Regions from separate parts of the Homo sapiens genome. Here all the other regions are linked to region 6. Evidence: promoter capture Hi-C in 16 types of primary human blood cells and fetal thymus (Javierre and others, 2016). All regions are on one chromosome and are shown on one strand. Each heading gives the region's core, a stretch centred on a gene start or on the middle of the fragment in contact. The rest is flanking DNA. Distances are from core to core; before and after follow the strand shown.

The links. Contacts are between HindIII fragments. The CHiCAGO score rates a contact against its expected background, and 5 or more counts as called.
Region 1: a contact is called between a fragment that was not itself captured here and the fragment with the promoter of SLC46A3 in region 6, in 1 of 17 cell types (monocytes). The highest score is 6.7, in monocytes.
Region 2: a fragment that was not itself captured here is called in contact with the fragment with the promoter of SLC46A3 in region 6 in 1 of 17 cell types (naive B cells); the score reaches 5.3 in naive B cells.
Region 3: a contact is called between a fragment that was not itself captured here and the fragment with the promoter of SLC46A3 in region 6, in 6 of 17 cell types (monocytes, total B cells, endothelial precursors and 3 more). The highest score is 5.6, in monocytes.
Region 4: a contact is called between a fragment that was not itself captured here and the fragment with the promoter of SLC46A3 in region 6, in 1 of 17 cell types (neutrophils). The highest score is 5.3, in neutrophils.
Region 5: a fragment that was not itself captured here is called in contact with the fragment with the promoter of SLC46A3 in region 6 in 1 of 17 cell types (monocytes); the score reaches 5.6 in monocytes.
Region 7: a fragment that was not itself captured here is called in contact with the fragment with the promoter of SLC46A3 in region 6 in 3 of 17 cell types (naive B cells, monocytes and neutrophils); the score reaches 7.3 in naive B cells.

The regions. Positions count from the first base shown.
Region 1 is chr13:28,357,470-28,360,573 of GRCh38, forward strand. It overlaps FLT1 (fms related receptor tyrosine kinase 1), which reads right to left. Exons shown (of 30, transcript NM_002019.4): 15 at 85-216. Among named protein-coding and RNA genes, the nearest start is that of FLT1, 140 kb to the right of the region's middle. RefSeq lists an enhancer at 688-997. The HindIII fragment of the contact is 558 bases long and covers 1,090-1,647 here.
Region 2 is chr13:28,239,500-28,242,349 of GRCh38, forward strand. All of the region lies in intron 6 of PAN3 (poly(A) specific ribonuclease subunit PAN3), which reads left to right. Among named protein-coding and RNA genes, the nearest start is that of PAN3-AS1, 100 kb to the left of the region's middle. The HindIII fragment of the contact is 801 bases long and covers 1,198-1,998 here.
Region 3 is chr13:28,294,903-28,298,142 of GRCh38, forward strand. It overlaps PAN3 (poly(A) specific ribonuclease subunit PAN3), which reads left to right. Exons shown (of 19, transcript NM_175854.8): 19 at 1-433. Among named protein-coding and RNA genes, the nearest start is that of PAN3-AS1, 160 kb to the left of the region's middle. RefSeq lists a silencer at 1,412-1,570. The HindIII fragment of the contact is 3,295 bases long and covers 1-3,219 here.
Region 4 is chr13:28,405,823-28,409,154 of GRCh38, forward strand. It overlaps FLT1 (fms related receptor tyrosine kinase 1), which reads right to left. Exons shown (of 30, transcript NM_002019.4): 11 at 1-72. Among named protein-coding and RNA genes, the nearest start is that of FLT1, 88 kb to the right of the region's middle. The HindIII fragment of the contact is 1,295 bases long and covers 979-2,273 here.
Region 5 is chr13:28,315,076-28,318,064 of GRCh38, forward strand. It overlaps FLT1 (fms related receptor tyrosine kinase 1), which reads right to left. Exons shown (of 30, transcript NM_002019.4): 25 at 2,423-2,522. The region is part of intron 2 of LOC124903141 (a long non-coding RNA gene); the gene reads left to right. Among named protein-coding and RNA genes, the nearest start is that of PAN3-AS1, 180 kb to the left of the region's middle. The HindIII fragment of the contact is 8,639 bases long and covers 1-2,989 here.
Region 6 is chr13:28,717,357-28,720,255 of GRCh38, forward strand. SLC46A3 (solute carrier family 46 member 3) reads right to left here and starts at 1,614. Exons shown (of 6, transcript NM_181785.4): 1 at 1,140-1,614; 2 at 454-666. The coding sequence starts at 642. The HindIII fragment of the contact is 12,183 bases long and covers 1-2,899 here.
Region 7 is chr13:28,333,189-28,336,133 of GRCh38, forward strand. It overlaps FLT1 (fms related receptor tyrosine kinase 1), which reads right to left. Exons shown (of 30, transcript NM_002019.4): 18 at 837-941. Among named protein-coding and RNA genes, the nearest start is that of FLT1, 160 kb to the right of the region's middle. The HindIII fragment of the contact is 1,547 bases long and covers 738-2,284 here.

The DNA of each region.
Region 1 (3,104 bases), core at 119-2,618, 360 kb before region 6:
AGGAGACTGGGAGGTGGAAAGTTAAACAAACAGGGAAATAGATGTCTGACCAATTTCTTGTTGCTTTCTTAAGCAGCTGTTTACCTTGAACAGTGAGGTATGCTGAACTTTCCACAGAGCCCTTCTGGTTGGTGGCTTTGCAGTGATAGACACCTTCATCCTCTTCTGTGACTCTTTCAATAAACAGCGTGCTGCTTCCTGGTCCTAAAATAATTCCTGAGGGGTGAGAGATGTTTAGATTAGTGGGCCTGGATGACAAACAAAAAACAGCTACTTCTGTAACACAGCCTTCTTCCTATCATTATGCATTCAGACAAGGAAATCCGAGCTCTAGTGAACCTGGGGCAGGGTTGCTTATTTGTTTTCTCTGGGTCCAGGCTTTCTTTTTCTTTTCTTTCCTTTTTTTTTTTTTTTTTTTTTCTGCAGGCTTTCTAATAGCACCTTCACCACCCAGCAGAGCTGTGATCCCCAGCTTCGGAGATGCAAATCCACCCACCCTGTAGAAAGAAATGTGAGGCAGCTGCCATGCCCAACTTGAAAGTTGAAGATATCAAGAAGGCAGCATATCTAATAATAACAACTATCATTGACTCAACGCCCTCTGTGTGCTCGGCACTATGTGACACACTTTCATACCTTGACATTTACAACCAGCCTGTCAGCTAATATTGTCTTCCTTTTACAAATGAGGAAACTGAGATTCTGTGAGATTAAGTAACTTCACCAAGAGCATGCAGTTTGACTGAAAGCACATTTGTGACATATGGGTCAAAGGAACTAATATTTCATTTGTCATAAGGCCTGGTGAGTCAATATAGCCTAGTGATGAAGAGTTTGCCTGGGCTGTGTTTTAATCCATGCCTTAGCGCTTCAAGCTTTGTCACTTAGGCAAGTTACTTGATCTTTCTAAGTTTCAGTTTCCTTAATCTTAAGATAAAAATGAAAGTAATTCTTACTCTATAGTAAATGGCAAGCCCATGGTACATAGTAAGTGCTCAGTAAATGTAAGCTTAAGGATTACTACAGAGCACAGTGTAGTGGAAGGAGTCCCAAGAATTTTCAGACCCCTGAAAGGCTTCAAGACCTTGAAGCTTCAATACCTTGTACTATCACCAAGGGTCTGTTGAGTATTTACTCTGCCATCAGTTCGTGTTACAAAACAAACAGCAGGCTAAGATGTGGGCAGGCTAAGACATGGTATCTGTTGAGAAGGAAAAATTAATTCCTACCAAACACACACATTTACATTCTCTCTCTCCCACACATGCTCAACACATACACTCACACACACAAGCCAACAAATAGAAAATGTTTAATGAATGAGAATGAGTGAATACAGCACAGTATACCTAATTAAGTGGAAGGTCTGGCACAGGGAAGGAGATCAGTAAGGAAGGGTGTACTTGGGGAAGGCTGCATAGAAGAGGTGGGCCTCGAGTTGAGGTCTGAAGGATTGTCAGAGGTGAAATGAGAAACGGAAGCATGAGAAATGGCATGATGTGGAAATAAACAGGAATTGAGTACTTGTTCCAGAATAGTGATAAAACAGGCCTGGCCAGACTATAGGCTGTATTTCATTAGTTTAAATAGTTTGTATTTCTCTTATGAAAGATGTACTCAATATAGAAAAGTTGAGAAATATTTGAAAGCTTAAAAAAAGAAAATGTAATATTATAAAGCTATGATAATCAAAACAGCATGGTACTGTTATAAAAACAGATCCATCAACCAATGGAATAGGCAAGGGCCCAGAAATCAACCCAAACATCTATGGTCAACTGATTTTTGACAAGGTGCCAAGAACACACAATGGGGAAAGGACAGTCTCCTTAATAAGTGGTGTTGGGAAAACTGGATATCTACATACAGAAAAATGAAAATGGACCCTTCTCTCATCCCTTATATAAAAATGAACTCAATATGGATTAAAAACTTAAATGTAAGACCAGAAACTATAAAACTACTAGAAGAAAATGTGGGGGAAAAACTCCACGATATTGGTCTGGGAAGAGATTTCTTGGATATGACCCCAAAAGCACAGGCAACGAAAGCAAAAATAGGCAAATGGGATTGCATCAAACTAAAAACCTTTTGCACAGCAAAGGAAACAATTAATAGAGTGAAGAGACAACCTACAGATTGGGAAAAAGTATTTGCAAATCATACATCAGATAAGGAGCCAATATCCAAAATATACAAGGAACTCAAACTACTCAATAACAAGGAAACCAATAATCCTATTTAAAAATGGGCAAAGAAATCAAATAGACATTTTTCAAAAGAAGACAGATGGCCAACAGTTATATGAAAAAAATACTCACCATCTCCAATCACAAAAATGTAAATCAAAACCAAATGAGGCCAGGTGCAGTGGCTCATGCCTGTAATCCCAGCACTTTGGGAGGCCGAGGTGGGCAGATCATCTGAGGTCAAGAGTTCAAGACCAGCCTCGCCAACATGATGAAACCCAGTCTCTACTAAAAATACAAAAATTAGCGGGGTGTGGTGGCGAATGCCTGTAATCCTAACTACTTGGGAGGCTGCAGCAGGAGAATCACTTGAACTGGGGAGGCAGAGGTTGCAGTGAGCGAGATCGTGCCACTGCACTCCGGCCTGGGTGACAGAGCGAGACTTTGTCTCAAAAAACAAGAAAAAAACCAAATGAGATAGCACCTCACACCTATTAGATTAGCTATTATTAAAAAGATAAAAGATCACAAGTGTTGATGAGGATGTGGAAAGAAGGGAACCCTTATACACGGTTGGTGGCATTATAAATTGTTACGGCCATTTTGGAAAACCATATGGAGCCTCTCAAACAACTAAAAAGAAAACTGCTATATGATCTAGCAATCCCACTACTGGGTATCTACCCAAAGAAATTGAAATCAAGGATGCTGAAGAGATGTCTGCATTCCCATGTTTATTGCAGCATTATTCACAATAGCCAAGATATGGAGGCAACCTATGTGTCCATCAATGGATGAATAGATTTTTAAAATTTGGTGTATATATACAATGGAATACTACAGCCTTAAAAAATAACAGGAAATTCTGTCATTTATGACAATATGGATGAACCTAGAGGACATTATGTTGAGCGA
Region 2 (2,850 bases), core at 348-2,847, 480 kb before region 6:
AAGTTTGTCCTTTCCACTTGGGTGTTGAAAGAGCTTATGAGCAGTAGCTGTTCTGATTTTTGTTGGTTGTTTTCTCTAGGGAACAAGCTACCCTCTGAGTCAGCACTGGACTTGAAGATAAATCCTACAATTCATGAAACTGACTGATTCGACTAAAGGATGGATAGTTTGGGCAGCGTTGGACAGCTCTATGAGGGGTCTGTTTGTTTAACTGAAGGGATTGTTGAGTTCAGCAACTTTTAATTCCCCTAATCATAAGGGGTTGCTGTTGTGAAAACAGGGTTTGTGAAGGAATCAGTTCTGGCAATTAACATCAGTATTCTTACTGACTTCGTTTTTATTTTATTGTCAAACTTCTTTAAAGTGGATAAATTTTACTGCTTTTTTTGCCAGCAAGAATTTGTATGCACTGAGAGGTCAGCATAGAAGCTTTGCAGTCTACTTATGAATCCAAGTTTCTTTTTTTAAAATATATGAGGTTATAAACATTTCTCTCAAGTAAACTTTTTGACACTTGGATTATTTCATCTTTACAAAGGTAGTATGCATTTGTGGCTTAGAATTTTTAAGATTTAATGGAACTTAATTTGAGTAGTAAATATTTTGCTAGTTTAGTGAGTATATTTTGGCTTATGGCTAACATGCTTTTTAGATAACTTTTATTAATAAGATATAATGAATTTTTACCCTAAAACTTTACAGGCTTTTAAAAATCAATCTTTGAGGAAATGAGATTAATTATAATGTTTAATTATATGGATTTTTAATCTGAAACATGAGGGATTTAAGCTACAGAATAAAAAGCTTCATACCCTAATTTTCTGGGCCATAATTATACAGGGATACAGTGGATTGTCTTTTTGAAGATAAAACATGCTGTGGGATGACATAGAAAATCCCAAAGCTGTGTCTGTGTGATAACGCATATAATTTTGTTATTTAAGAATTAAAAGATTATAAATGTATAAATTTTATTTTAATCATTTGAAAGTTGGGATGGTTGAAAATATATAGGAGTAATGATAGTATTACCTAGCCAGTATTTGAGTAGATTCTTTAAATATCTTTGATTGATTAGGCTAGAAGTACAAATAGTCATCCATCATGGCAGAGTTTAGAAAATTGGGCTTTAGACAAATGAGTTTGCAGAAAATTCAACTTTCGCTCCATAGCTGCATGATTCTTATTACCTTGTTAAGCTTGATACTTTTGATTAAGAACATTTTTTGCCAGATTTGATTTTCTCTGCAAAGGTTAATTTGATTGAAAAAATGAAATTATTTTGAGGAAAGAAGTAAAGGCTAGTATTATTTTAGTGTCTACTTTCTGATTCTGTTGATTTTTGGATGGTGAAGTGGTTGGTTTTATATTGTACACTCTATTCTGGGATGAGATCCATGTTTAAAACATACATATGCCTATGTCTTGTTTGTCCCAGTCATATCTTTATTTGTGTCCACTTTTAAATTTTCCTTTTCGGCCGGATGTGGTGGCCCATGCCTGTTATCCCAACACTTTGCTGGGAACCGAGGTGGCAAGGTTGCTTGAGTCCAGAGTTCAAGACCAGCCTGGGCAACATGTTGAGACCCTGTCTCTACAAAAAATACACAAATGAGCCAGGGGTGGTGGCATGTGCTGGTGATCCAAGCTACTAGGGAGGCTGAGGCAGTATATGATTGCTTGAGCCTGGGAAGTTGAGGCTTCAGTGAACCATGTTGGCGCCACTGCACTCCAGCCTGGGCAACAGAGTGAAACGCTGTTTCAAAAAAAGGACAAAAGAAAGAAAAAAGAAAGTTCTCTTCAACAGAAGGCTGTACTTGCATATAGTATATAGTCATCTGGAGCTTGGGAATTTTTTTGACTAGGTTGCATCAATTGCAAATAATGCTGTGACATTCAAACTTTAATTGCAATAGTAATTATGCTGAAATACCTTCCTTAAACTCAGTTTCTTCTTCTATTAAGAAGAGCCAGTGATAGAAATGGTCTGAGGAATAAAGCTTGTCTCTGAAGCACTGAAATAACAAGTGGTGGTGGCAGGGGTGGGGTTGTGAGGGAGGCTTCGTTGAACTCAACTTTGGATAGTTTATTTATTTCTACTCTTTGAATCATAAGGAAAATCAAAGAAGAGACTTTATTAATTCTTAACATGTTTAGGACTCTTAGAATTTGGGGATATAAACACAGTGTCTGTGTTTTGGGCTATAAGTGTGTATTCTTTAATTTTGGGTGATTTGGGGAATTTGGTTAAAAATGAATAAGTATTTGTAGTAGTAGCGCATTTTTTGTATTTTGATTATGATTACATAAGTTCCTTAGTATGATTTTTCTCATGGCAAAAGCCCCAGATATTGGCCTTGTTATTAAGAAGATAATGCTTCACATGTTCTCAAGTCATCTGTTCAAGATGACATATGTTTTATTAATTTCTAATCTAAATCATTATCTTCAATGTAGTTAGACATGACAATTTATTATTGAGGATTTAGTTTGGTTATTGGAACTTCATTAAAACTATTTGTATAACCCATGTTTACCCAGATTGCATTGACCTAGAAAAAGTAACACATACTAGAGTAATGAGACTTTGTCAGAAGAATGTCCTTCATCCCAGCTTCCTTCACATTCCTCTATTTCTCTCGTAGTGTCTAGTGGGTTGTTTCATGTTTGCTTTTAAATAGTATTGACTGACATATGTGCTGCTTGATAGCATGATCATTTACTTTTCCTCTGCCCCCAGATTTTTGTTATACTTAGTACTTCTTCCGTGATGGCCTTTGTCAGTGCAGGCAATTTGATGATGATAGCTATTGCTGTATTTAGCATCTTGGTTGTTGGTACCAAGAAAAG
Region 3 (3,240 bases), core at 322-2,821, 420 kb before region 6:
GTTTTTGGGGGAGCCCTGTTTTCCATAGTGTAATTCCATTTAAGAGGTTGTCTAAAAGTCTTTTTAATTAATAGAAAGATTTTAATATCCAAGAGTAGTCAAATTAAGGATATAAACTTTCCACACCTTCCTGTCGTGACAGATAAAAGCACAGAAAGGACAACCCTTGAAATCATGTAACGTTGGTCATTTCAATATTTTGTACCTGTTTTAAATTCTGTTAGTGTATTTACTTCATTGTAAATATTTTTGAGGGTACCTTTGTATTTTGCTTTTGACCTTGGTTCTGTGATTTGGATGTCAACAACTTCCCTAAAAAGCACCAGTGTGTTAGGTTCTAATGTCATGACCCAATTTGTGTTATTCATCTTTAATCCTGTTTTCAGTCTCTATGTGTACAGCAGTATTTTTAATAAAGAATTACAGAGATAAATTTGTCCTTTTCTTGCACGTGTTCATATAACAAGATGATGATTATCTTATGATTGGATTTTAAAAGATTGGTTATTTCCTCTGTATTTTGGAGGAATTTTTGTATTTGGATGAAATGGCAGCAGATTTATTCATTAATTTATCAGGTAGTCCTTAAGTCTTATCTACTGTGTCCTTGGATCTGTTCTAGGCACTAAGACAGATACAGGGACTTGGTATTTACAGAATGTATAGTTATACCCAAACATCTTAATACAATACATGACTAACAATGTAGTTTAGGAGAGAAGACTACTCACGAGAAAGCATAAGGGGTCTGCCATGTGTATGTCTGGTGGTAAAGTATTCCAGGTAAGGGAATGTTTCAGAGCCTTTGCGGAACAGCAGGGGAGCGAATGTGGCTAGAGCCAAGTTAAGTAGGAAGTGACGTCAGAAAGGTCTATAGGGAAGGGGTGTGTCCTGTGGACCATTTTAAGTATTTTGGCTTTTACCCTCAAAAGAGGAAGCCGTGCCGGGCGCAGTGGCTCACGCCTGTAATCCCAGCACTTTGGGAGGCTGAGGTGGGCAGATCACGAGGTCAGGAGATCGAGACCATCCTGGCTAACATGTTGAAACCCCCTCTCTATCAAAAATAAAAAAATTATCCAGGCGTGGTGGCAGGCGCCTGTAGTCCCAGCTACTCGGGAGGCTGAGGAAGGAGAATGGCGTGAACCCAGGAGGCAGAGCTTGCAGTGAGCCTAGATCGCACCACTGTACTCCAGCCTGAGCATCAGAGCAAGACTCTGTCTCAAAAGAAAAAGGAAGCTGCAGGAGGATTTTCAGCAGAAGAGTAACATGATAAGACATTTAAAAAGGATCACTCTGGCTACGACGTGAACAGACTGAGGGAGGAAGTGAGCTGTTGACATGGTGGGAAACTGACAGCATCCCAAGTGAAGGATGTTGGATTTTAAAACCCATGTCTTTTGAGTTTTGTTGGGTTTTTTTGTTTTGTTTGAGACGGAGTCTCACTCCATCGTCCAGGCTGGAGTGCAGTGGCACGATCTTGGCTCACTGCAACCTCTGCCTCCTGGGTTCAAGCGATTCTCCTGCCTCAGCCTCCCGAGTAGCTGGGATTACAGGCATCCGTCACCATACCTGGCTAATTTTTATATTTTTTGTAGATACGGGGTTTCACCATGTTGGCCAGGCTGGTCTCAAACTCCTGACCTCAGGTGATCTGCCTGTCTTGGCCTCTGAAAGTGCTGGGATTACAGGCATGAGCCAAAGCGCCCAGCCATCTTTGAGTTTTAAAACCCACCTGCGACTGAGCACGGTGTCTCACAGCTGTAACCCCGGCACTTTGGGAGGCCGAGGCAAGTGGATCACCTGAAGTCAGGAGTTCCAAGACCAGCCTGGCCAACAGAGCTGGTCTGACAAGAGCGAGACTGTCAAAAAAAAAAAAAAAAAAAAAACACCTGGACTAGGGTGGTAGCAGTAGAGGTGGTGCAGAGTGGCTGGACTTCAAATAAGGTTTTAAAGGTAGAGCCATCAGGGATGTCCTGATTCACTGGATGCGGACAAAGAAGAGAGAAGTCAGGAATGACTCTTAAGATTTTGGCTTGCTGGCCAGGTGCAGTGGTTCATGCCTGTAATCCCGACACTTGGGAGGCCAAGGTGCGCAGATCACCGGAGCCCAGAGTTTTGAGACAGGCCTGGGCAACATAGTGAGACCTTGTCTCTACAAAAAGTAAAATCAGCCAGGCATGGTGTCACGCACCTGTAGCCCCAGCTACTCAGGGGGCTGAGGTGGGAGGATTGATTGAGCCCAGGAGGTCAAGGCTGCAGTGCACCGAGATGGAGCCATTGCACTCCAGCCTGAGCGACAAAGTAAGACCCTGTCTCAAAAAATATTTCCTTTGGCTTGATGCTCACAGGATAGAGGATTCTGCTGAATTGGAAGAGACTGTTGTAAGAACAAAGAGTCTACAGGGCAGGGGAGGATGGAGAAACAGGAAAAGACAATTTGGGAGTTTGGTCTAAGGCCCATTAAGTTTGAGATGTTTAGTACACATTTGTTCTGGTTATTTGCTTTGTAACAACTCCACCCTTAATGGCATAAAACAAGCATTTTATTACATTCAAGGATTCTGTGGGTCAGGAATCTGGGCAAGACACAGCAGGGAGGCTTGTCTCTATGCCATTGTGATTGGGCCTCCGCTGGGAAATTCCAATGGATGGGGGCTGGAGTGACTTGCGGGCTGGACTCAGCTGGCTGCTGTCTATGGGAGCACCTTCACATGGCCTCCATGTGGCTTAGGTTTCTCCAAGTATGGCTGCTGGGTCCCTGGCGGGAACTGTTGAAGAGTGAGTGTACCAAGACTCAGGAAGTGCATGATCTTTTCTGACCTGGCCTCCAAGCCATGCAGTGTCCCTTCTTTCACATTGCATTGATCACAAGTGAGTCCTAAAGCTAGCTCTGATTCTAGGGGAGGGGACATTGCCAAAGGTCGTGTGCCAAAGGTCGTGTGAGATGGGAGATAATCTTGCAGCTGTCTTTGAAAAATAGAATATTTTTGAAAAATACAGTACAATATCTTTGAAAAATACACCTGTATTTGAAAAAAATACAGTCTGCTAGAGCATCAAGGGGAGATGTCAGGTTAGCACTTGTGTATATATGAGTTTAGAGTGTTGCAGCGGGCAGGAAGAATCTCTTCTGTCCATGAAAGTCATCATATGGGTGTCATTGAAAGCCCTGAGATTGGTTGAGATCATGAAGGAAGTTGGTATAGACTGAGAAAAGAAAGCTTCAAGGGCAAGCCCTGG
Region 4 (3,332 bases), core at 376-2,875, 310 kb before region 6:
TCAATTCTGTTTCCCATGTTGCTGTCAGCATCCAGGATAAAGGACTCTTCATTATTGGAACAAAAGTCACACCTATTAAAAAAAAAAGTTGTCACAATGTGGCTTTACAGCATGGTTCAGTCAATGGGGACAGGTGAAATGAAAACTTGGTGTAAGTCCTCAGATAACAAAGTCACAAATTTTATGTGTGATCTTCTTTTCCTTAGATTTTTTCCTATATTCATCCTCAAAACTTAAAAATAGCAAATATATTTGGCTGATACTTGAAAAAAGCCCCACACTAGTGTGTCACCATACATCCTTTTCGTTGTAAATGTTAATATTAAATAAAAATGCATAAATTAGAAAATTTAGTATCTAGATTTTAGTTTTTAGTGGAAGTAACATTCAAACACGGAAAAAATGAAGTTATGTTAATGAATAAAAAACTCAAGGAAATCATACCATTTTATATCTATAAAAGGCTGGCTTTTAATCAGAATATGCAGTTGGATGGCTAAGTTTTTCCAGGGCTAATTAAGTGCATATGGAAATCAACATCATGAAACAGTTATTAAATTCAGTCTCTCTCTGCTCAAGTTTTGGGGAACTGTTCAAGCTCTCAGGCCTCAAGTGTTTAATTATAAAATAAAGGTGTTGATGTTATTTATCTTTGAGGTCCATGAATTCTCTCTCTGTTTTAAACATTTCACCATTTTGCATTCTGACTTTCTGGACTAGAATTTTTTTGAGCAGAAAGCTTGCTGGTCTCTAATTTGCACATGTCTTGGGCAGATTCTACAGATTTTTTAAACCAAGAGGAATTTTATTATTATTATTATTATTATTATTATTAATATTAGAGACAGGGTCTCACTCTGTCACCTAGGCTAATGTGCAGTGGTGCAATCATAGGTCACTGCAGCCTCGAACCTCTGGGTTCAAGCAATCCTGCCGCTTCAGCCTGTAGCTGGGATTATAGGCTAAGTGAAATTTTCAAGCTTCATTTCCAGAAAAAAATGAGTGGTTCATCTTTAGCAGCCAAGAGCAGGAATGACTTATGTGAGAGGAAAATGAGAGGCTAAAGTCAGTGAGAAAAAGGGGAAGACAGAAGGGAATGTGGTCAGAAAAACGTTCCGTTACTATTCCTCCCTGGTCCTTGAGCTGAGAAGGAACTCCAGAGTGTTAAACTATCGCATCTGCAGGGGTACTGGCCCTGTAACGTCCTCCTGCAGAGTACTCACCACCTTTTAAGTGCTGACTTAATGGTTCTGAGTCCCCGCTGGGCCAACAGCTACAGGAGGACAGGGGACAAATCGACGTATTCACTCTGTCCCCATAGCTAAGCAGGGCCCGAGCATGCCGTCGGCGCCCCATAAACATTTGCACACATGCAGACAGGCACAAGGTACCCGAAGTTGTTTTTGCTAAGAGTTTCTACTTTCTTTAATTGTTTATTATTATCAAACACACCGATAAGTAGAGAGAATAGTGTGATACACCCCCATATACCCGCCACCCAGATTTCACAGTTATCAAGATTTTGTCACATTGGTTTCATCTACCCCTTTTTTTTCTTCTGTATTTTATTTATTTATTTATTTTAAAATTTTTCTAGCCTGGCCAAATGAAGGATTTCTGTGTTTTAAAACAAATCTCAGGCATCTTGTCATTTTAGCCCTATGTACTTCAGTGCATCTCTCTAAAAAATGAGCAAATTTTTCCAATATAACCACAACACTACTTTTATACCTAAGAGAATTAGCAATAATTCCGTGGTGGTGTTTGCACCTAAACCGTATATCAGATTTCCCCAAATGTTTTTAAAGATGTCTGTCTTACAGTTAGATTACAAGATTTAAAATTTAAAAAGAATGAATAAAAGGTGACCATTCCTCAAGGAATTTCTGCAGTTTTTACCAGGTATAACCTTATAATAATCATGAGGTAAAATAAATGAACATTTTAATGCTTATTGATAAGTAGAGTAAACTGAGCCAAAGAGAAATTATGTACTTTCTCCTTTATTAGAAACATCTTAATGACAAAGTTTAAAAGTCATTATATGAGAGTCACTTTGCCTTATTTTTTCATTATCATATTCTCCATTTTCTAGACTATAACATCCCCATGTTAATCTTGCGTTAGACTTGCTATCTTTCACACACTCGTATTACAGGTATGAGTGTATATAATGTGCACATATACACATGTGTATACCTAGATTAGACATTTGCATATGTACTTGGGATTGTGACATCAAACAGCTAAAGTTCTCTTGTATCTGGAAGACAAGCTTTTAGATTGTATTCCTTTTCCCCCAAAGCAAGGAAAAAGATCGGGGATACCTTAGTCAAAGATCTTAATTTCATACTCTTGGGCTTTAGGAAATGCAAAGAAATATGTTAGAGTAAGGCAAGCCTGGGTGTTTCTCAAGGGAAATACAGTCTGCTATCTGAGTTCACTTGGGGCTGTTGACCTCTGACACCCCACACCTCCCCCATCCCACACCCATGACTCTGAGGGCAGTTACTAAGGGCACAAGCCCTAGTATGGAAACTATAGGCCAGACTTATTGCCAGCTCTTCCACATAAAAAGGACAGATTCTGTGGCTATTTTCTAATTTAGGGGCTGTTATTTTTCCCTCTTTGTAATTGGGGCTATAAAAATAGAATGTCATTTAGAAGCCTTACTATATAACAGCACTTGAAAAGAGATTTAGGGGGAGGGGAATGTGCCTAAGCCTTAAGAATACATCAAGCTCTTAAGGAAGTAGATTGTGCCATGTTTGAAGATGCAAAGATAATCACTGTGCTGGGAACTGTCTTGAGGGGGGAGGAAGCCGAACAACAAGAGGAAAGCAGCGTTCGCTCCTGATTTCGCACAGGAAGTCCACAGCACCTCCTGCCAAAGCGAGATAAGAAAGCTCCCATGCACTATTCTGGACAAGGCCACTGTTATCAGCCTCAGCTCGGCGCTGTCCTCTCTTTGCTCCAAGCCTCCGTCCCTTTCCTAATGAGCTATATGACTCCTACCTCCATTTGCATACAGCATGCCAAGTACAATGGCAGGGAGGTATTTATAACCCCTGAAAGGAAAAAAAAAATTATGGGCTAAGAGTGTACTCCATGTCATCTCTGCTGATTGCTCTGGACCTGAAACAACTTAATTTCGGACTAGAGATTGATATAAATAAATTAAAAGAAAGCAGCCAATTATGTTTCCAACACATGGAGCTAGGACCTCATGTGTGATATGTCAGCCTTCTACATTCCAAGTGGGAGCCATCTGTGGAACTCCCCATCTGGTCTAAGTTACTAGTCTTCTTCTCTTGACACATTATGGGAAACTG
Region 5 (2,989 bases), core at 197-2,696, 400 kb before region 6:
CCAACGCAGGCTTGAGCAAATCACTTACATGTGCGGTGCCTGTTTTCTCATCTGTGAAATGGGGATCATGGTAGTCCTACTTTATAGGACTGTTATGAGCATTAAATAAATTAATGCTTAAAATAGTGGCACTTATAAGCACCAAATAACTATTTAATCAGTACTATTCAATACTGTTATAATAAAAACTAATTTCAGGCCAGGCATGGAGGCTCACGCCTGTAATCCCAACACTTTGGGAGGCCAAGGCCAGTGGATCACTTGAGCTCAGGAGTTCGAGACCAGCCTGGCCAACATGGAGAAACCCCATCTCTACAAAAAAATATAAAAATTAGCCAGGCGTGGTGGCACATGCCTGTAGTCCCAGCAACTCAGTAGGCTGAGGAAAAAGAATGACTTGAACTCAGGAGGTGGAGGTTGCAGTGAGCTGAGATCACGCCACTGCACTCTAGCCTGGACAACAGAGCGAGACACTATCTCAAAAAAACAAACAAAAAAACCCAACTAAACTAATTTCATACTATTTAGAATTTATATGGAAGTAAAAATAAAACTTAATTTCATACTGTTTTGCATTTATTTTGATGTAAAAATATTGTTATTTAATAATAACAACTATTAGTGTAATTGAGAACTTTCTCGAGATTTTCAGACTATATGAAGATTGGAAGGACATATTTAATTCAAAGCATGAGTGGCCATATCAGAGAAGCATTTCTACTGAGGAACGTGGGGTCTGTTCCTAATTCATCAGCCGTGGTCTAGGGACATCAGTCCAGAGGCTTGGGTTCTAAATGTCTCCTTTGCTTCTCAGCTGACAGACGGCACATTGCTTCAGTTCTCGGCATCTCAGTTTCATTACTTGCTAAATTCAGATTACAATAGCTGCCCTGACCACCCCTCAAGGTCTCTGGGAACTTCAAATGAGACTATGTGTGGGAAAACACTTAGAAAATCATAAAGTTAATCATCTAGCTCTATCCCCAGCTCTCAGAAACAGGCCTTGCCTCAGCTCCCTGTACTTTTCTGATGAGGACACCACGCACCAGTGACAAGAACAGGTCCCCTCCCGCTTCCCTACGCTCAGGCAGAGCTCCCCAGCCCTGCTGTTGGGCCTGAGTCTCCTGTCCACCTCGTCCAGTTCCCCATCCTGGGTCTGACCTACCCTTACCCCGAGATGATGAAGGAAAGAGACAGTGACTTTGCCCTTTGGCCAAGCCCACACTTCCTGCATTCCCTCTGATTCCTTCTGAAAGGCCAGCCAGGGCTTCTGACAGGACCCCATTGTGTGGGTGGAATGGGAGGGCCCCTGCCAGTTCAGGAAAGGTGGTGCCGCCTCAGGGAGGCCCAAGTCCTTGTCAGCAGCTCCACAAAAGTGCAAGTGTCATCACATTCCTGCTCAGGCCTCAAAGTGCAAAACATCCACAAAGCCCCAGGAAAAAAAGTGTCCAAGACAGGCAAGCAAGTGCAATTTGCACAGTGGAGAAAGCCTCACATGGACACCCGAAAAGCCATCTGACCAGGCAGCTTCAGACAGCTGCTGGGCCTATTCCTAAAAGGTTCTTTTTTTTTTTTTTTTTTGAGACATAATCTCACTCTGTCACCCAGGTTGGAGTGCAGTGGCGTGATCTTGGCTCACTGCAATCTCCGCTTCATAGGCTCAAGTGATTCTCATGCCTCAGCCTCCCAAGTAGCTGCCACCAGGCCCGGCTAACTTTTGTATTTTTAGTAGAGACGGGGTTTCACCATGTCGGCCAGGCTAGTCTCGAACTCCTGACCTCAAGTGATCCGCCCGCCTCTGCCTCCCAAAGTGCTGGGATTACACATGTGAGCCACTGCGCCCGGCCCCTATTCCTCCCAAAGGATTCTAAAGAAGTTGTATTGCCCACAAAGCCTTCTGTGAAGCATAATCATGACATCAGGAAGTTCCCCTTTTCCTCTCCAAGACCTGTTCTGCAGACCACATCAACCCCCTCACGGGTGTTCTGTGCAGACACAGGACTGGTCACAAGACCAAGGTCTAGCCCTCCATCCCTGGGGCTGCTAGGCCTGTTTGGCTCCCACTCCGTGAGTGAGGCCAAGGTCTTGCATTCAGTTCCTGGGTGGTCTGTTTGTTTTGCCTGGATTCATACCTAGAAACTGAATTTCTAACTTCAGTTCCCAGCTAGAGCCCTTGAAAAGTCATGTCAGTGGTCAGGACAGGAAATAGGTAGGGATGGGTCAAGGGCCACGTGCCCCACTGCAAGAAAACACTCCCAGCATATCTGGGCCTGATGGGCTGAGGGGAGCATCTCTAAAGGAAAGAAGAACCTTGGCATCTTCCAAGACTGGGACTCTAAGAATCCATAAAACATCCCCTCTCAGGAATGCCCTGGTGAAAAGCGAGCTGTCAGATGGGGAGCAGAGGGCACCAAGGGCTCACATTTCAGGAGTAGAGTACTCAGGAGCTCTCATCCTCATGCCTTCCCTCAGGCGACTGCAAAAGTCCTCATCCATTTGTACTCCTGGGTATGGAGACCCACCTGCGGGAGACAATGTGGAAAACACAGGGCCTGTTATGGCTTAAGGGTACAAAAGACCAAGAGGGGACAATTCAGTGTTTCTTTCCTCCCTTTAAAGCTACGTTTTAGTAATAAATTCCCAGGGATTACAACAGATCTCAACATACCGTACAACACACAGAGAAGCTCAGCAAATCCTTGCTAAGGACACCCGCTTGGTTGGGTGGTCACATGGTGCGGGGCACCTGGTGCTCACAGGCTATTCCTATGGCTACTTCTGCCTGTGTGGTCAGAGGAAGGGGTGTCGTCTGAAGGGTCCTTGCCTTCTCCCCACAAGTAACTAAAGAAGTCCCATCATTAGAGACTCATCCTTTGGGTTAGTGAGCTTTTGTTTTTTTTGAAGAGACGGGTCTCCCTCTGTCACCAGGCTGGAGTGTGGTGGCATGATCTTAGCTCACTGCAGCCTCGAACTCCTGGGCTCAAGCAAT
Region 6 (2,899 bases), core at 364-2,863:
GCTGGGACATGCAGAAACAGTAAAAGGATTGGGGAAGAATAGAGCAAGTGAGAGACAGAAACACCATGTTTCAGCCACCCCTGTCCACCAAGTAGCTCATTCCAGCCTGCCCTGCCCCAATTTTCAGACTTTTTTTTTTTTTTTTTTTTTTTTTAGGACAAAGCAAGGAGACAGCCACAGAAGAGATGACACTGTGGTGAAATTTTCCGAGAGAAAGGAGAAGAGCTAGTGTCACAGAGCAGGAGGGTGTTTTAAGAAGAAGAGGCAGATTTGAAAGGTGTCAGGAAACTTCAAATGAGGTGAGTTCCCAGTAAAGGCCATTAGGTTTGGGATTTAGGACTTTGATGGCCGCCCTAGAGAGACCAATGGATGATGAGTTCACGGTCCTCTTTAACTCAAAGCCCGGTATACATTCCCATTTTATTAAATACTATGGATATTGTAATTTCTTACCTCCTGGAATGCAAAAATTGGGCTGCTTTTGTTTTTTTCACACTCAGAAATATTGCTATCAGATGAAAAAGTGTAGTTGCCAGTTTCTTCCCATATTCTCCGATAAACATATTGCGTTGTCAGTGGACCGGTCAAAGTCATAGCAAATGCACTAAGGAAAATGGCAGGTTCTACAAATAAAATCTTCATATTGCCTGGGTAGGTAGCTGTATTCTATAAAAAGTGAAAACGGAGAAAGATCATCTGTCTCATCCCAGAGGCTAGATATTCAAAGATGGGTAAGTTTGAGCAATTTTGTGGAGTAAATGTTTAAACAAGCAAACTAGAGAACAGAAAAGGCAGTAAGCACTTTCTCAGAGAATAACTTTTACTTTGGAGTAGAGTACTCTGTAACAACCTGAGGCTGCCATGCTTTCCATTTTTATGAGTAGGACATTGTAGGACTCAAGCCGCCTTTGAGTCTTTGAAATCATAAACTGTCACCCATCTTGGTTAGCCAATGATCACAGTACAGTTCCCACACTGTATATTGCCAACTGATTTTTCGTAAGTTCAACAATGAGGTTCCTTTTGGGAAGCGACAGTTGCACAATTGTTATTGTTATTTTGCTGCGTATTAAAAACGGACAGGGAGGGGGCGTTTTAAAAAGCAGCTCCCAATCGAAAGGGCCTTATTTTTAACTCACCCCACGATTACAGTCTTCCTGCCAGGCTGGGTACAGGTCGGGCCGTGCCAGGGGCTGTCGCCTCGGATGCCCTGCGCTCGTGCGCGCCCGGGTTCAAGGGCAGCCTCTGGACTGGGGCAACAGAGGACGCGCCGGGGACAGTAACCTCGGACTACGCGGCCGGCGCTGGGGTGGGGAGAGTACTTTCCCGTCGAACTCGACCAAATTACGCTTGTCGGGGAGTCTCAAGCGTATTGTAAAGCAAACCTCGGCAAGCGCACTTCCGCGTCCCGAGTGACACCTGCAGGGTTCTCCGGCAGCCCTCGGCTTCCCCGCGGCCCTGCGGACCTCGGCCTCAGCGCGGCGCGGCGGGGCGCGGAGCAGCTGCTCCTTCTGCGCAGTGGACAATCGGCCAATCGGCGCCTCCGTCGGTCGGTCAGCGGCCCTGCCAGCGCTAGGCGATGACTCGGCCGCAGCCAGCTGAGCATCGCTGTCCGCCGAGGAGGCGGGGTCGGCTGCCGCGGCGCTGTCACTGTTCTACCCGGCTCTCCTGCGATTGGGCCCAGCGGTCGGTGCCCCAGCGGCGATTGGTCCACCCGGACGTCACTCTCCCCTGGAGAGTGGCTAGTGGATCGTGCACCCACCCTCGGAGGCCCGGAGTGGATCCCGCGCGACCGAGCAGCCACTCAGCACCGCTGTTGAGTGGTGGGCCGCGCCGCAGGCTCAACAGCTCTGGAGTTGCAAAGCATTTCTGAATCCGAATATCCTTTCTCATAGAAACACATAAAACAACAGTTGGAAAAGTAACATGTTTGGGCTGTAGCCCCCAGCAGGATCCCGGTCGGCCCGCAGAAGAGGGGAATGGGCGCAGGTGGAGGGCATAGGAAAGAGAGTGCTCAATGCAGAGTTAGCGGAGGGTTGGAATGTGGTCGCTGGCTTTTCCTGGGGAGGGGAGGGGGGACTTGGGCAAATCGTTAAATTTTCATGAACCTCCATGTCTTTATCTGCCACGTGGGGATGATAAGTCTTACAGGGTTGTCTAATTAAACACTCAGCATGTATACACAACACAGCCCCTGGACATAGGAGGAGTTGTCAGTGCTCTCCAACACACCCACCAGGAACAACTTGTAGTAAAAGAATTGAGCTACTACTTCTTGAAGCCAGGAGAAATGCATGCATGAGGAACCGTGGGGGCATCTCAGTAAGAAGGTGTTAGAATTTACTATGGGCTTGCGTTATGTGATTTTGGGAAGAGTTCAAGAAAGCAAGGCCTTACTCTGGATTGGTTGCTGTCAGGAAATGGCAGTAATTCTATGATTGGGTATCTTAATAAGTCTTATTTAGGAGTCAAGACTAGACAGAGGCTAAAGCCATGAATGATAAAGAAGCAACAGTCACACATATTTGTCATTTTTGTGGTTTAGACAGTGCCTAAATTTTGTCCGTGTTCAGACAAAATTATGACGTGGTCTTGTTTTTGTCTTGATCATGGTTACAGAATGCTCTTGTCTGACTTTGGTGTTCCGTGAAATTGTTTTCATTCGACAGAACACCATGGTCCAGAAAAGTTCTTAGCAACACCAAGGCCCAGCTGATAGTTCCAGCACCTGGATGTCAGAGCTGCTTTCTCTTCCTCAGCACTCCTTAAATGACAGTTGTGTCACTGAATGCAGAGTTAAACGTCTTAGGTTTGAGTCCTAACTGATACTTAGTAGCTGGTAACCTTGGACTTGCCACTTAATCTTACTTCCCAGCTTCTTCAAATCAGCATTTATGAA
Region 7 (2,945 bases), core at 261-2,760, 380 kb before region 6:
TACCCGTGTAGTTGGACTCACAGCTTGCTGGGCTTCAAAATTTCCCAGCAGTATCCTGGAGACTTTGGAAAGTTAAAAGCTGCTTTTTGAGTTTTCAGTTCTGTTGAGTTGAAGCATCATAAAATTCCATTACAGATGAGGAAATGAAGTATTTTCTACACTGTAAAGGACCTGTGAGTCTTTGAGACATGTGGTTTACACAGCTTTCACTGATTTTCATTTTCAATCTGTCTTTGGTGTTGGGCATAAGTCACTGTGTGATTTGGTTCTACCTCCCAGTGCTTCACAGAGTAGTAGTATCTTTCAACACTAGAAAGATAATTCAGGTTTTTAAACTGCTAAAGAGGAAATGTTTTATGGCTGAGGTAGTTAGTATAAAATAGTTTAGAGTTCTGATCAACTCAATTGTTCTAGCTTTATAGTTTTACTTTATAGTCAGGTCAAGCCCAAGCAAAGCCATTGGGATTTAGAATGTGCTGCTAAGTTTCCATTACAACATCACAGTAGATCATGCCAAAATCTGAACCTGCAGTTACAATGGGCTTAAGTCCCTTGTTGTCTACAGTCTGTGATGTGAGATGAGAAAGACCTTTGAGGTGACAGAGATCATTTTCCTATGGACAGTGCTGGATTGTTCCATTTACAAGGTTTCTTCTGAGCTCGTGCTGGCCTAATCTAAAACTCGTGAGCAAAGAGGCCTCTAGCAGTAGAAGAAAATTATGTGTCCAGAGCAGAAAAGCTTGTGTCTGTTCCCAGGCTATATCTAACTTGTACCAACATTTAGGAAATGCAAAATGGTGATGGGTCAGTTGAAAGCCAAACTACAGCATACATACCTTTCAGCATTTTCACAGCCACAGTCCGGCACGTAGGTGATTTCTTAATGCCAAATGCTGATGCTTGAACCACTTTTCCAAAAGCCCCTCTTCCAAGTGATTTGCCTGTAATGAAGAGAAGACACTGGTTTGTTTGCCGAGGCAATAGGGTGAGTTTAAGTCTTTTTCAGGAAGGAAATGCCTTTTCCTATGTGTGCATGTGAGGCATGGAATCTCCAGTGAACTAACCCTAAAAGAGACAAAGTAAGGGACTTATTTCTGGAGTCTCTTCCTTTCAACTCTTAACTCTGTTCCTGAGGCCCCACATCCTTCAAAGATAGAGTAAGTCCCTAGAAGGCATTCAGTGAAGGTAGATGTCCAGTTTCCTTTCCACAGCGTTCTCCCGTAGGAGAGATGGGACCAAGTCCCGTGTAGTTTCTTCCATTGTTTAATAACATTATGACCAAGAAGACTTCCCTGTGTGGAACCTAAGCTCTTTTTCTTTTTCCATTTACAGTCATTTTTCTCTCATCTGTTTTCAGCAAAAAGGGAGAAATAGAAAATGGTGGTTACTACTGTGGATTATAATAATGCTCATAACTTTAAAATAATCACTAAGTCATTTATCCGACTTCCCTACCAGGCAAAATATTTCCAGTCTTTCTAATGTGTCTTAGGTGAAGATTACAAATCCTCGTGGTTCAGCACAGGAGCCTGGTCAACCACTGGTAGTGATTTGTTTCAACCCCAGAGAGGTAGTTGCTAAATGCAATAACTAAGCAAGGTTCCTTTCATGGTCCCCATAATGCTATGCTATAATGACTGTTAATATGTTTCTTTCCCTATCCTAGAATGACCCAGGGAGTCCTTGCCCCCCTTTACTCTGGGGGGCAAGGACCATGTCTGAATCTTCCCAGAACCTAACTTGGTGCCTGGTGCTATCTGTTATTACTGAATATTGCTGCAGAATGGAGAGTGGTGTTCAGGAATGTGTGGGTTGCCCAAAGCAAGTCTCCTAGTCATAGGTAACTAGAGGGGCCCATGGGATGGAGACCCTGAGATTGATGCCCTTTAGGGAGGGCACTCCCTGGAGTACCTAAGCTGCCTTTTATATCAGGGAACCTCCTTTTGCACATCAGGAAACAGCTCAATAGAACCCAGAGAAATGGTGCACCTCCAGCATGATATACCCAAAGAAGAGTAAGTGAAGTAAGTCAGTCTTTTTTTGGCTTTTCTTGGGGGAAGGGGAAATGACAGAATACCACTGGTTGGTTAAAACTATTATAAATCCTGGCAGTTAGAGTGTTAATTTAACACAACCCCTCCTTTCCCAACCAAGTGCTCTTTCTTAGACCCGTCTGATAATGTGCCTTCAGTTAATGAACCTTCTTTCCTCCCTTCCTTCCTCATTACTCCACTCCCTTTCCCCAAAGGGCATTTTTAAAAAATTTTCTTGTAGTTTGTAATGAAGCTTTGCTTCTTCCTCATCATATTAGAACCTTTCTACTTTTATGCCCAACTACTCAGTGACAAAAATGTCTTTACCTTGCTCTGCTTAATGTCTTCTACTACCCACCACCCCAGGTGTCCAGTTAGGATGTATGAAAATTTCACTTATACCAGTGTCATCATTAGGGCCTCTGTGTGGCTGTCTGCAGGGACATGCTCTGCATTCAGAGAGAACACTGGGGAGACGACACGTTTCTCTTTTTGTGAAACATGCTCCCGTAGTGATTACTAAATGACATTCCTCCCAGAGCATGCAACACGGGCAGAGCTACAGCCTCTGCTTCCTTCTTCGCATAAAATTGTTGAAGAAATAGACCAGGATGGGGACCCTCGATTTGAAATAAAAGAGCCTCCAGTGGATCCTGAAAGTGCTACATCTGAAAATCCGGTGTGGGAACAGCGCTGGCAGATGCCTTCTCTATACTAGTAAAAACTGGTGCATTTTGGTTGGAGGTTTATTCCTTGCTTTATTTGGGATAAAGTATCAATGTTTTTCTTCCACAATGCCTTCCACCATCTAAAAAGAAAAGTGTCCTGAGCCTGAGAAATATCCAGATCTTTTCTCCTTACACACCTAAGACCCTTGCATGTTTGGGGCAGGTGGCATCCTTTGCACTTTCC